3 separate regions of the Homo sapiens genome follow, and regions 2 and 3 are each linked to region 1. Evidence: promoter capture Hi-C in 16 types of primary human blood cells and fetal thymus (Javierre and others, 2016). All regions are on one chromosome and are shown on one strand. The core of a region is centred on a gene start or on the middle of the fragment in contact, and the rest is flanking DNA. Distances in the headings are between cores, read along the strand shown. Region 1 holds the start of HPSE2 (heparanase 2 (inactive)). Region 2 overlaps HPSE2 (heparanase 2 (inactive)). Region 3 overlaps HPSE2 (heparanase 2 (inactive)).

Region 1 (3,684 bases), core at 579-3,078:
GGTCTGCGCAGCTGAAGGAGTTCAATGAAAGTGGGACAAGCGTTGCGGAAAACTCCGTTGCACCCTACATTCGGACGAGCTCATAGACGCGCTCTGCTGCACGAAAGAGCTTTCGAAGAGGAAGCTGGGCCGCGCGGAGCTGGCTGTTCCGCCCTCGCGGCAACCGCACCAACAGGAACCGAAACGGCCTCGGCAAGGGCAGCTACAGCCTCTCAGTCCTCCGGCTACCTTTCCTCCACGTGGAAGGAGCGCTCCACGTGGCGCCTCCCGCTACCTGCCGCGTCCGCAGACCCGACCCGGGCCAGGGGGACAACCCCAAGAGCTGAGAGGCGGGCGCACCTCAAGAAGCAAAACTCGAATTTCGCAAGGAGTGAAAAATACGAAGGACGCACAACGGACCTGGCCTCGGGGCAAAGTGGGACTGAGAGCGCTGAGGGCTCTTCGAGGGGAACCCACAGCTGAGGCTCCAACTTGTAGGGAATTTTTAAAAACTCAACACTTGGATTCGACATTGCAGAGGATTTATTTCTTATTTTACACTGCAACTCTGTCCCTGATGGGAAGGGATCGCAGTTGCCTAACTGCCAAACTGCAACAACCCGGGAAGAGTGTGAGCCCAATTAGATTACAAGCCCTAGAGCAAAGGGGATCACAAACCTCCGGGTTTGCTAATCTGCTGGTGCGGAGTTCAGATCTCCGAAGCCTCCCTGGAGTATTTCTAGGACTCTTACCGCTTCCCTTATAACGCTGTGACCCCAGCGAGGATTTTTTTTTTCCTTTAAAGAAAAGCTAAACTGTGCAGTTACCGCAGGAGATTTAAGGAGGAGGAACTGGCGGGGGGAGGGGGGCATTCCGTCTATAAAAAGCGCCTTACAAAGTCCTGAAGTCTGGAAATGACAGCGGAGGATATAAAATAAAAAATTTTAACTCCGATCCAACTTGCCCACCACTCAAGCCTCTGCTTAAATTCGTTTTCTGAGAGTGGGAGAGAACTGACGAAACGATCTTTCCGTGGAAAATTCCAGTTTCGTGCAATCCCGCTTGAACACTCACACACACACACTCTCCTGTCTCACATACACACACACACACACACACACACACATACCCATTCCTTTCAGCTCTTTGTTGTTTGAGACCTTTTCTTCGCTTTTGTAACTGCTCTGAACCTCTTGTTTCTTTTTCAGAAGTAGACGGGAAGGCTAATTGTGGATATATGTAAGCACAACATTTTTTCAGTCATAACTGATAAGTTTCTGAAATGCCTTCTGCATTGCAAACATGTGCATCTTAATAGAAAACATTGCTTTTCTCAATCACTAGTTACAGCCTCACAGCACACAATCCAGGAGAAGGAAAACCTCTTTTCTTCTCTTTGAGAGATCTGCTTGGCTTATTTTCTTCTTTCCCCTTTGGAATGGGGGATAGGAAGGGCTTGAGGGGGTGTTACTAAAAAATTTTAAATGATCCATCGAAACCCCTGCCTTACCTTAGGAAATCGAGCCAGCCATCATGAATGATGGACGGATCCAGCTGCAGAGAGAGGAAGTTCTCATTGACTGTCCTGACTGGGTTCTTGGTGCTCACATCAAGTAGAATCAGGGTCTTTTCCTTCAAACCTGCAGCTCTGTCTACAGGCAAGGGTCTCCTGTCTCCAGCCTGGGAGGAAAGGGAGAGATGGAGCAACAGAGCCAAGTAGAGAGCCCCCGGGGCTAGGCACGCGGGGGGGCGGGAGTTGCTGGAGGGCATGGCTTCAGGGAAGGCACAAAGCACCCTCATTCAATCCCTCTGATTTAAACCTCTCTTCCTACTGGGTCTCGCTAGTGACTAATTGTCCTTATCTAAAGTGTGTGTCTGTCCGCCTTTTTCCCCCCTTTTTTTCCCTTCCTCCCACCACCCCCCCAACACACACACACTCTCTCTCTCTCCCGCTCTCTCTCTCTCTCGCTCGCTCGCTCGCTCGTTTTGTTTTTTTCTTTTTTTTTTTTAATTTTTTTTAATTTTTTTTTTCAGTGTTTTGGTGCTGGTGGAGCGAACTCACGCCCCTAGCCAGCCTTCCCCGTGACTCTTGCCAAGAGAACTCGTACACCGGCACCGCCCCTTTAAGAGATTTCTACTGCAGACATTTTTTAACTTTTTAAAGGTAAGGGGAGGGGAGCAGGCGGGAAGGAGGAGAAAAGGGTGGCGTTGTACCCTCCTAATTTAACCCTCTAGGGTCAGGAAGCAGAGGGAGGAATCCAAACCATGCCGTTGTACCGTCTGGGTACAGAGCAAAGGGTCTCGTTTTTACGTCCTTCCCTGAGAGGCTCTGGAGGGCGGTTCAAGCTCCGACTCCGACCCGAAAGCCCCAGCGCCAACCCGGGACGCGCTGGGATAGAGTTCCCACCGACAGCACGCTTGTTTCTCCTGACAGCGTCAGGCACTTCGTCCGCTCAGGGCCCTTTTCTGGTTGAAGCAGCAATACCAAGGGCGGTTAAGTTGCAGAGGGGTCTTGAGGCGGTGATTCCTGTCAAAGCATAGAGCCCTGAAGGACATTCCCCGAAGAGGAGCCCTGATCTCTGTGACGCGTTGGATAGCCACACCGAAGCATCCTCTGACCTCCATAGGGCAAAGAGTAGCAAGAAGGAAAAACATAGTGACCTGGTCAAGCAGCTTTTCCGATCCGAGGGCCAAAAGGGACATGCGCCCTCGCTCTGCTCTGCTCTTCCCGCAACCGAGGAATAAGCGTCTTGGGAGCGTCAATACATGCTGGCTTTGGCCAAGTCGAAGCTACCTGAGCTGTGCTTGGATAGTCAGGGCGGCTCTGCGTCCAACTGTGCCACTTCTTGGCCACTCTATTCTGCTGCACAGGTAGAGTCCCCCCTCCAGACCCTCCTGGAGGTCAATCCTATACTTAGCCCTCCTGCAGGGAAGTGCGCCTTTACAGTGCCAGATGGGACCATAGTGACACTTTCGGGTTTCCATCTCGGCCCCCAGTCAAAACCAGAGTCACATAGCCCTGGATGGGGAATAACAGCCGGAAGCCGCTGTGATGCACGACCCGCCGCTGCTCATTGAGCTTCCACCCCACAACAGCTTGCAAATTGAACTCTAGGTCCTATCCTGAAGCGCGGGAAAGGGATCAGGCACAGTTTGCTGCAGTCACATTGCTGGGCCCCACTTTCGGCTTCTTTCTGAGACAAAATGGGACTTCTACTTGGCAGATGAAGGGAACTACTTTATGTAGTGCGGGCAGTCAGAAACGCAGAAGCGTCCAGGGCCCTCCTTGGTATCAAACAAGCAAAACCCTAAAATGCAGAGCAAGGGTTTTCCCCAGAAGTGGATGGACAAGGGTTAGTCTTAAAGCCCAGCAAACGCTGTAATAGCAACCTGTATCCTCTTACCTCCACCCAGACCAGGATTAACAAATCTGAAAACAGCTGGAATAGATGACCTTCAACTGAAGTTCCCTGAAAAGCCTCTACCAACCTAAGCACCCAGGAAATCGAGATTATGTTGCATTCATCTGTGAAGCGCCATGACGACCTTCTAGAAATAGGACTGCATAAGATGAGGATATGGGAGAAAGCAAATGCAAGTCATATTATTTAAAGATGATTTTTTTAAATCAAGCTGTTACATAGTGAAGTATTGGATGTTGGCTCCAGCCCTAAGGCCTGTTTCCTTCAGTTCCTGAACATTTCT
Region 2 (3,684 bases), core at 615-3,114, 460 kb before region 1:
CTGGCAGAAGCCTATCCCTGCAAGGCAACAGTTGATCCCTTTGGGAGCCACTCCCACCTCCTCTCCTGGATACCAGGCTGATAACTAGAATTAAAGCCCAGGATAGCCCAACTAAGAAAACAAATGAGACTATGTAGCCAGGAGTTATGAAAATTAGCTAAGATGTATCAATAGGAGCCAGAGATATACTCCTAGGATTGGATTTTGAAAGAGCTTGATCAAGGGGGCCAGGATGTACAACTGGATAACCAAGAATTCAGTGACTTCAGGTTACTCTCTTGAGATGTGGGATTTAACACTCTGGCATGGATCCCAGTGGATGGGGCAAACTCCCTGCTAGGGTGACTTTTAGAGGTCTGCAAAAAGTAATAGCCATGTTGAGCAACGTAGAAGTACCTGAGTTGCCCTGGCAGATGGTAAAGACAGGTATGTATAAAAGAGACTGAAGGAAGTGGTTGGAATGGATATATTAATAAGGACAGAAGATTCATCAGAGGATGTTCCAGGGGAGAACCCAAAGGACACCATTTGCTAAGGCCATTAGGAATGTGCTGGTGAGAGGCACACAGCATCACTAAGAAGTTCAGTGATGGCTGTTATCTGCAGGCCAGTTTTGGACTGGGCAATAACCGTAAGGATGGTGGTTGGAGAGGCAAAGCAATAGAGCCTTAGGTGTCGGTGCTTAACTTCCAGAAGCCAAAAAGTTACAATTACTATAATGACTAGCAAGGTCAGAGGGGCAGCCAAGGGTCCTTGACTGGCAGACAGTTACACAAATGGTTAACAGAGCATGACATCCCCAGGGGCAAATATAATAGATGAGCAGACTACATGAGTGTTAGTTAACAACTGTAATCACAAAAAAAAGACAAAAATGGATGACTGGGAAACTGAGGATGGTTGCCCCAATCAAGAGTCCTGATCCTTTGCTAGTTAGTCCCTGGTCCCGAGCCAATTTGCAGATCCAGAACCCTTTGACTGAAGACATGGCCAGGACTTTAGGAGGGGTGCTGTAGCATTATATATTATAATTCTCCTTCCTCAAAGGGACCTATGGTCATTTACTCAGGTGACTGTAAACTAAGGAAAAGGAGAAAACAAATACATTTTGAGGAATATTTAATACAGGCTCTGAGCAGACAGTGACACCTGGAAACCCAAAGTATTATCATGCCCTCCTTATTCCAGAGGAATTTATGGAGGCCAGGCAATAAGTGGAATCCTAGAATTGTGCTTAATGCAAATTAGATGCCTATTACTTATTGACTGATTTGATTCACTACAAGAATGGTTATGAAAAATAAGGAGAAAGATTTTATTCCTTGGACATGACTACAAAAAATAATCTTCCATGTACAAATTCTACAGGCAAAAACATAATTAGCAAAAAATGTTGATATGAGAGTTATTGCTAGGAGGTTGAAATTCTAAGCAAGAATTTATTAGACTGAAGGTTTCTAGGAAAGGCAAGAATTGCAAGGACAGTTCTTCCATTAGGCTGAAATAAGCTCACGAGGTCAACAAAGAATTATGATTGATTAGGAAGGACCTATTTCCTCTTCTTTTGGAGGCCTTTAACTTCTACTTCACTTGCCCTCCATTTAAAAGCTTTCTTCCTATGGTGATCTGTTTCAAGATCCTAGCCAGAGGCATAGGAGCCTCCAACCAGCAGTCAAGGGCATTCTGAGTATCAGAAGTATTTAATTCAGTAGGGACATATGCAAGAATCTATTCCTTTACAGTTTAACTACTTTTGTACACAACATTATATCCTTATATTCTCCTATAATTTTTTAAATGAGACTAGCTCTAGGATCCTGTGGGTTCCTTTCTCTAATTAATACACCATCAATAGAGAATCAAAGGTTCAGTTATCAGATTGTCTTTCTTTCTCTAAGCCAGTCCAGAAGGGTGGATAGGACTTACTATTGCATAGTCTTCAAATATAACTACCCAATTAAACTGGTCTAGATACTTTTAGGATATATAGCAGTGATCTCCCTTATAATTTGTAATTCCCTGCTGTAAACTCCAATCTGCATGTGGAAATTTTAAGTTGGGTCATCCTTATAAGTCTCCAAAAACACTTCTGGAAAGGGACATTTTGGCAATATGTATCAAAAGCTTTAAAAACGTATATATGCTTTGACTAAAAATCTCCACTTCTAAAATTTTTTTCTGAGGAAATAATCAGAATGGGATGCACAAGTGCATAAGAATGTTCATCTCAGCTTTATTTCACGGCAAACAGAGAGGATGACTAAAAAGAAGAGTGAATAAATAAATCTATACGATGAAATTCAATCAATAAAGGTACTATAGAAAAATTTATCTTTTGAGGCCAGGGACAGTGGCTCATGCCTTTGGGAGGCTAAGGTGAAAGGATTGCTTTTGAGCTCAGGAGTTTGAGATCAGCCTGGGCAACATAGTGAGACCTTATCTCTACAAAAAATTTTAAAAATTAGCCAGGCATTGTGGTACATGCCTGTAGTTCCACCTACTGGGGGGCTGAGGTGGGAGGATCACTTGAGCCCAAGGAGGTCAAGGGTGCAGGGTGCAGTGAGCCATGACTGTGTCACTGCACTCCAGTATGGGTGACGGAGTGACATCCTGTAGCAAAAAAAGGATAAAAATCAACATCAGAAAATTTGGATCAACTTTTGGATAAATATATATACTTAAAACATATTTTCATATGTCTGTAAATACATATATACATTCCTATCTATACACACATACACAGTAAAAGCAGAGAGACAGTAAGGACTAGAATAAAAAAGAACAAAATAATTGAGTATTAGTGCTCTGATCATCTTTTACAGTTCTCCTTGGCAAGACTAATATATTCAAGAGAAAAATTCCTATTTGCTCCATATATCAAGCAGAAAACAGAAGCTAGACATCCACAGCTATTAAAACAACAACCACTACCAAAACAAACAACAAAAAAAGTAGTATTCTGTTTAAATGATTGTGTCAGCTCTCTCTTTCTCTCTCTTGCTTCTTGGGACTTGACTGTATTGTTAGTGTTATCCATGTGGGAGAAACCTAAGTCAGCTGCACAATCAGATCAGAAATCTGGTGGAGGCTCTCAAGGGGTTCCTATTCATCCCAACCCCCTTCCCCACTAATTGTATCCTCCATTCCTTCAGTCTTCATGGATCTGGTGGGTGAGGCATGGGGCTGCTCAGGAAAAAGCAGCAGGGCAGATGCTGCAGTTTTAAGTGAAATCAGGTGTTGCTTTCCCTGAAGTAAGATCTGGAAAATGTCAACCTTAAGTAACCGGTACTGGCAGCTGAACACGTAGTCTTCCCCACTGGGCTCAGTGTTTCCTTTCCCTGCAAGAAGTACCTAGGCTTTTCCCTTTCCTCTTGCATTGCCCCATCTCCTTCATCGTGGGACTCTTTAGAGTTCATTGAATAAAAATTTCCATTTTGTAGATATTCATCTGACATGATTCTAAGTATGTTGGAAATGGAAAAGTGGCAATAGAATCCACAAGTGTCAAATAAAACACACTTTAGTGTTGTTGGTGACCTAGGCTTCAACCTGTGGAGGAAATATAAAAGATTTCTTGGAGGAATGGGGAGAAACAACTGAGTCCTGGCTCTTTTCTCCATATGCTGAGAGATACAGGCAGAAACACAGCACACAAATTTGATAAAGCCAAAGTATTAAATGGAG
Region 3 (3,684 bases), core at 802-3,301, 350 kb before region 1:
CATGCCTTGGGTAGCTGCTAGTCTGAGTAAGAAGGGGCATATTTGGAGCAGACCCAGAACCGATCAGCAGCCTTTGGAGTGAATTCCAGCCAAGATCATTCTAGATCAGTTGAACCTCAGCCAACCTGTAGACAAGGGAGCTAGGAATAAATGTTTATTGTTGAAGACTATTGAGTTTGGGGGAGTTTGCTATGCAGCACTATTGTGGCAATAATTGATTAATATACTAACAGACAACCTCAAAGTCTCGATGACTTACAACAATATTTTTTTTTTCTCAAAAGTCATGAGTCAGTTGCGGCTCTGCTGGATATGGCTGAAATAGGCTAGGCTTGGCTTCAGATTGTAAACTGGGTTCGAATCAGCTTTGTGTGCTTTCTTATTTTCCTTGTACTAGTGACTCTCTGGGGCATGTTCTTATAGAAGATCATTAGAGTGTAAGAGACTAGAAAACCATGCAAGTATGTTTAAAGTTTTTCATTATATCACTTCTGCTAACATTCCATTGGGTAGAGCAAGTCATTTGGCTAAACCCAACATCAATGAGACAGGAAAGTATGTTCTACTCACAGTGGCAGGCCCAGCATAGTGGCAAAGAGGATAAATGTAAAATATTTTAACACAGAGAGTTTATGGGAAGTTCAGAACAATGACTGTCTAATCTAGCCCAGTGCTCTACACGAATTATTTATCTATTTCTTTACAACAATACTATGGAATAAACACAATTTCCCTATTACAGTTTGGGGAACTGAGATACAGAGGAGATAATAACTATGCAAATATCACAGTATTAGCAGGTTGTTGTTATAAGATTTGAACCTTCAGAGTATGATGCCGAAGATTGTATACTTTATCAGTCTGATTCACCTCCGCCCAAACATGTCCTGTGATCAATGTTTAAAGCAATAAGAGCAGTTTTGCATGGAGAGGAAAAGCCATATGTTGACCATCTTCCTAGCTCTGAAGGGCTATCATATGGAAGAGAGAGACAAGATTTGTTTTATTTGTTGTAAAAATGTGGTACCCTTGGTAGAGGTAGTGGGTTGAGAGATCAAAGGAATATACATTTTGGCACAATTTAAAAAAAAACTTTTTTAACAGTAAAAACTTCTCAATGATGGCTTGTATCCAAGTAAATACCTAGGTGACCACAAGGCATGGGTGTTATAAAGAAGATTCCAAAATCATATGGAAAATATGGTTAGCTTGAAAGATAGTTAAAACCTAAAATTCTTTCAGCCAAGAAACTTTATAATTCTATGAAAATTATTCTAAAAACATAGACATTCACTGTAAGTTAATAACAGCTTTTATTACAGTAGTAATAAAGCAGAGTTTTTCAATGTCCAAAATGGCTAGAAACTTTTAGAGCTAGCTAATAATTAAGAATCTTGGCTGGGTGTGGTGGCTCACACCTGTAATCTCAGCAATTTGGGAGGCTGAGGCAGGAGGATCACTTGAGGCCAGGAGTTCAAACCCAGCCTGGGCAACATAGCATGACCCATCTTTACAAAATACAAATAAATTAGCCAGGCATAATGACATGTGCTTGTAGTGCCAGCTAGTCGGGAGGCTGAGGCTGGAGGATTGCTTGAGCCTAGGAGTTCAAGCCTGTAGTGAACTATGATTGCACCACTGCACTCTAGCCTGGGAGACACAGCAAGACACCAACTCTAAAAAGTAAAATAAATAAAATAATAATCCTACAATGGCCTCTAAGTGTTTAAGTGAAAGAGTCACATGTTTCTCATTTTAAATCAAAAGCTCAAAACAATTAAGCTTAGTGAGAAAGGCATGTCTAAAGCTAAAGCTCAAAGCTAGGCCTCTTATACCAAACAGTTAGCCAACTTGTTAATGTAAAGAAAAAAGTTATTGAAGAAAATAGAAATTTCTACTCCAGTGAACACAGAAGTTATAAGAAAGCTCAACAACCTTATTACTGATATGGAGAAAGATTTAGTGGTCTAGATAGGTCAAACCAGCCACAGAATTCCCTTAGGCAAAAGCCTAATCCAGAGCAAGGCCTTACCTCTCTTTAATTCTCTGAAGGCTGAGAGAGGTGAGGAAGCTGCTGAAGAAAAAGTTGGTTCATGAGGTTTAAGGAAAGAAGCTATCTCCAGAACATAAAAGTACCAGATTAAGCAACAAGTCCTGATGTAGAAGCTGTACCAAGTTCTCCAGAAGATCTAGCCAAGGTAATTGTTGAAGGTGGCTACACTGAACAACAGATTTTCGACGTAGTTGAAACAGCCTTCTATTGGAAGAAAATGCCCTCTAGGACTTTCATAACTAGAGAGAAAAAGTCAATGCCTGGCTTCAAAGCTTCAAAGGATAGGCTGATTCTCTCGTTAGGGGCTAATGCAGCTGGACTTTAAGTTGAAACCAGTGCTCATTTACCATTTCAAAAATCTTAGGTTCTCTAAGATTTATGCAAAATCTACTCCATCTGTGCTCTATAAGTGGAATGACAAAACCTGGATGACAGCACATCTGTTTACAGCATGGTTTACTCTAGCAGTCCTCAACCTTTTTGGCACCAGGGACTGGTTTTGTGGAAGACAATTTTTTCATGGATGGTGGAGGTAGTGGGGTGTTGGCGAGGAGGACGGTTTCAGGGTGAAACTGTTCCACCTCAGATCATCAGGCATTACTTAGATTCTCGTAAGGAGCACACAACCTAGATCCCTTGCAGAGATCCCTCTGACAGAGATGTACAAAGAGACTTGTGTTGTTTTTATGCCTGCTAACCCAGCATCCATTCTGAAGCCCATGGATCAAGGAGTAATTTGGACTTTCAAGTATTATTATTTAAGAAATACATTTTGTAAGGCCAGAACTGCCATAGGCAGTGATTCCTCTGATGGATCTAAGCAAAGCAAATTGAAAACCTATGGAAATGTTTCACCACTCTAGATGCCATTAAGAATATTTGTGATTCATGGGAGGAGGTCAAAATAGCAACATTAACAGGAGTTTAGAAGAAATTGATTCCAACCCTTATTGGTGACTTTTAGGGGTTCAAGACTTCAGTGGGGGAAGTAACTTCAGATGTGGTAGAAATAACAAAAGAACTGGAATTAGAAGTGGAGCCTGAATATGTGACTGAATTGCAACAACCTCATGATGAAACTTTAATGGATGAAGAATTGATTCTCATGAATGAGCAGAGGGAGTGGTCTCTTGAGATGGAAACTATTCCTGGTGAAGATGCTCTGAACATTGTTGAAGTGACAGCAAAGTATTTAAAATATTACATAAGCTTAATAAAGCAACTGCAGAGTTTGACTTTAATTTTGAAAGAAATTCTACTGTGGGTAAAATGCTATCAAGCAGCATCATGTGCTACAGAGAAAACTTTCATGAAAAGAAGAGTTGACCAATATGGCAAACTTCACTGCTGTCTTATCTTAAGAAATTGCCACAGCCACTTCAACCTACAACCACCACCACCTTGATTAGTCAGCATTTGTCAACATAGAGACAAGGCCCTCCACTAGTACAGACATTACAACTCACTGAAGTTTCAGGTGATTGTCAGCATTTTTTGCCACTAAAGTTTTTTTTTAATTAATGTATGTACTTTTTAAAGACATAATGCCATTTCATACTTAATACACTATAGTACAGTATAAACAGAATGTTTATATGCACTGTGAAACCAAAAACCTCATATGACTTGCT

Evidence for each region. The method cuts DNA at HindIII sites, captures the fragments that hold promoters and counts their contacts. A CHiCAGO score of 5 or more calls a contact.
Region 2: a contact is called between a fragment that was not itself captured here and the fragment with the promoter of HPSE2 in region 1, in 1 of 17 cell types (naive B cells). The highest score is 5.1, in naive B cells.
Region 3: a fragment that was not itself captured here is called in contact with the fragment with the promoter of HPSE2 in region 1 in 1 of 17 cell types (M2 macrophages); the score reaches 5.3 in M2 macrophages.

The regions. Positions count from the first base shown.
Region 1 is chr10:99,234,024-99,237,707 of GRCh38, forward strand. It overlaps HPSE2 (heparanase 2 (inactive)), which reads right to left and starts at 1,829. Exons shown (of 12, transcript NM_021828.5): 1 at 1,490-1,829. The coding sequence starts at 1,779. RefSeq lists a silencer at 139-258 and enhancers at 2,406-2,906, 2,907-3,407. The HindIII fragment of the contact is 7,443 bases long and covers 1-3,684 here.
Region 2 is chr10:98,771,447-98,775,130 of GRCh38, forward strand. All of the region lies in intron 3 of HPSE2 (heparanase 2 (inactive)), which reads right to left. Among named protein-coding and RNA genes, the nearest start is that of MIR6507, 150 kb to the right of the region's middle. The HindIII fragment of the contact is 516 bases long and covers 1,607-2,122 here.
Region 3 is chr10:98,882,127-98,885,810 of GRCh38, forward strand. All of the region lies in intron 3 of HPSE2 (heparanase 2 (inactive)), which reads right to left. Among named protein-coding and RNA genes, the nearest start is that of MIR6507, 41 kb to the right of the region's middle. The HindIII fragment of the contact is 543 bases long and covers 1,781-2,323 here.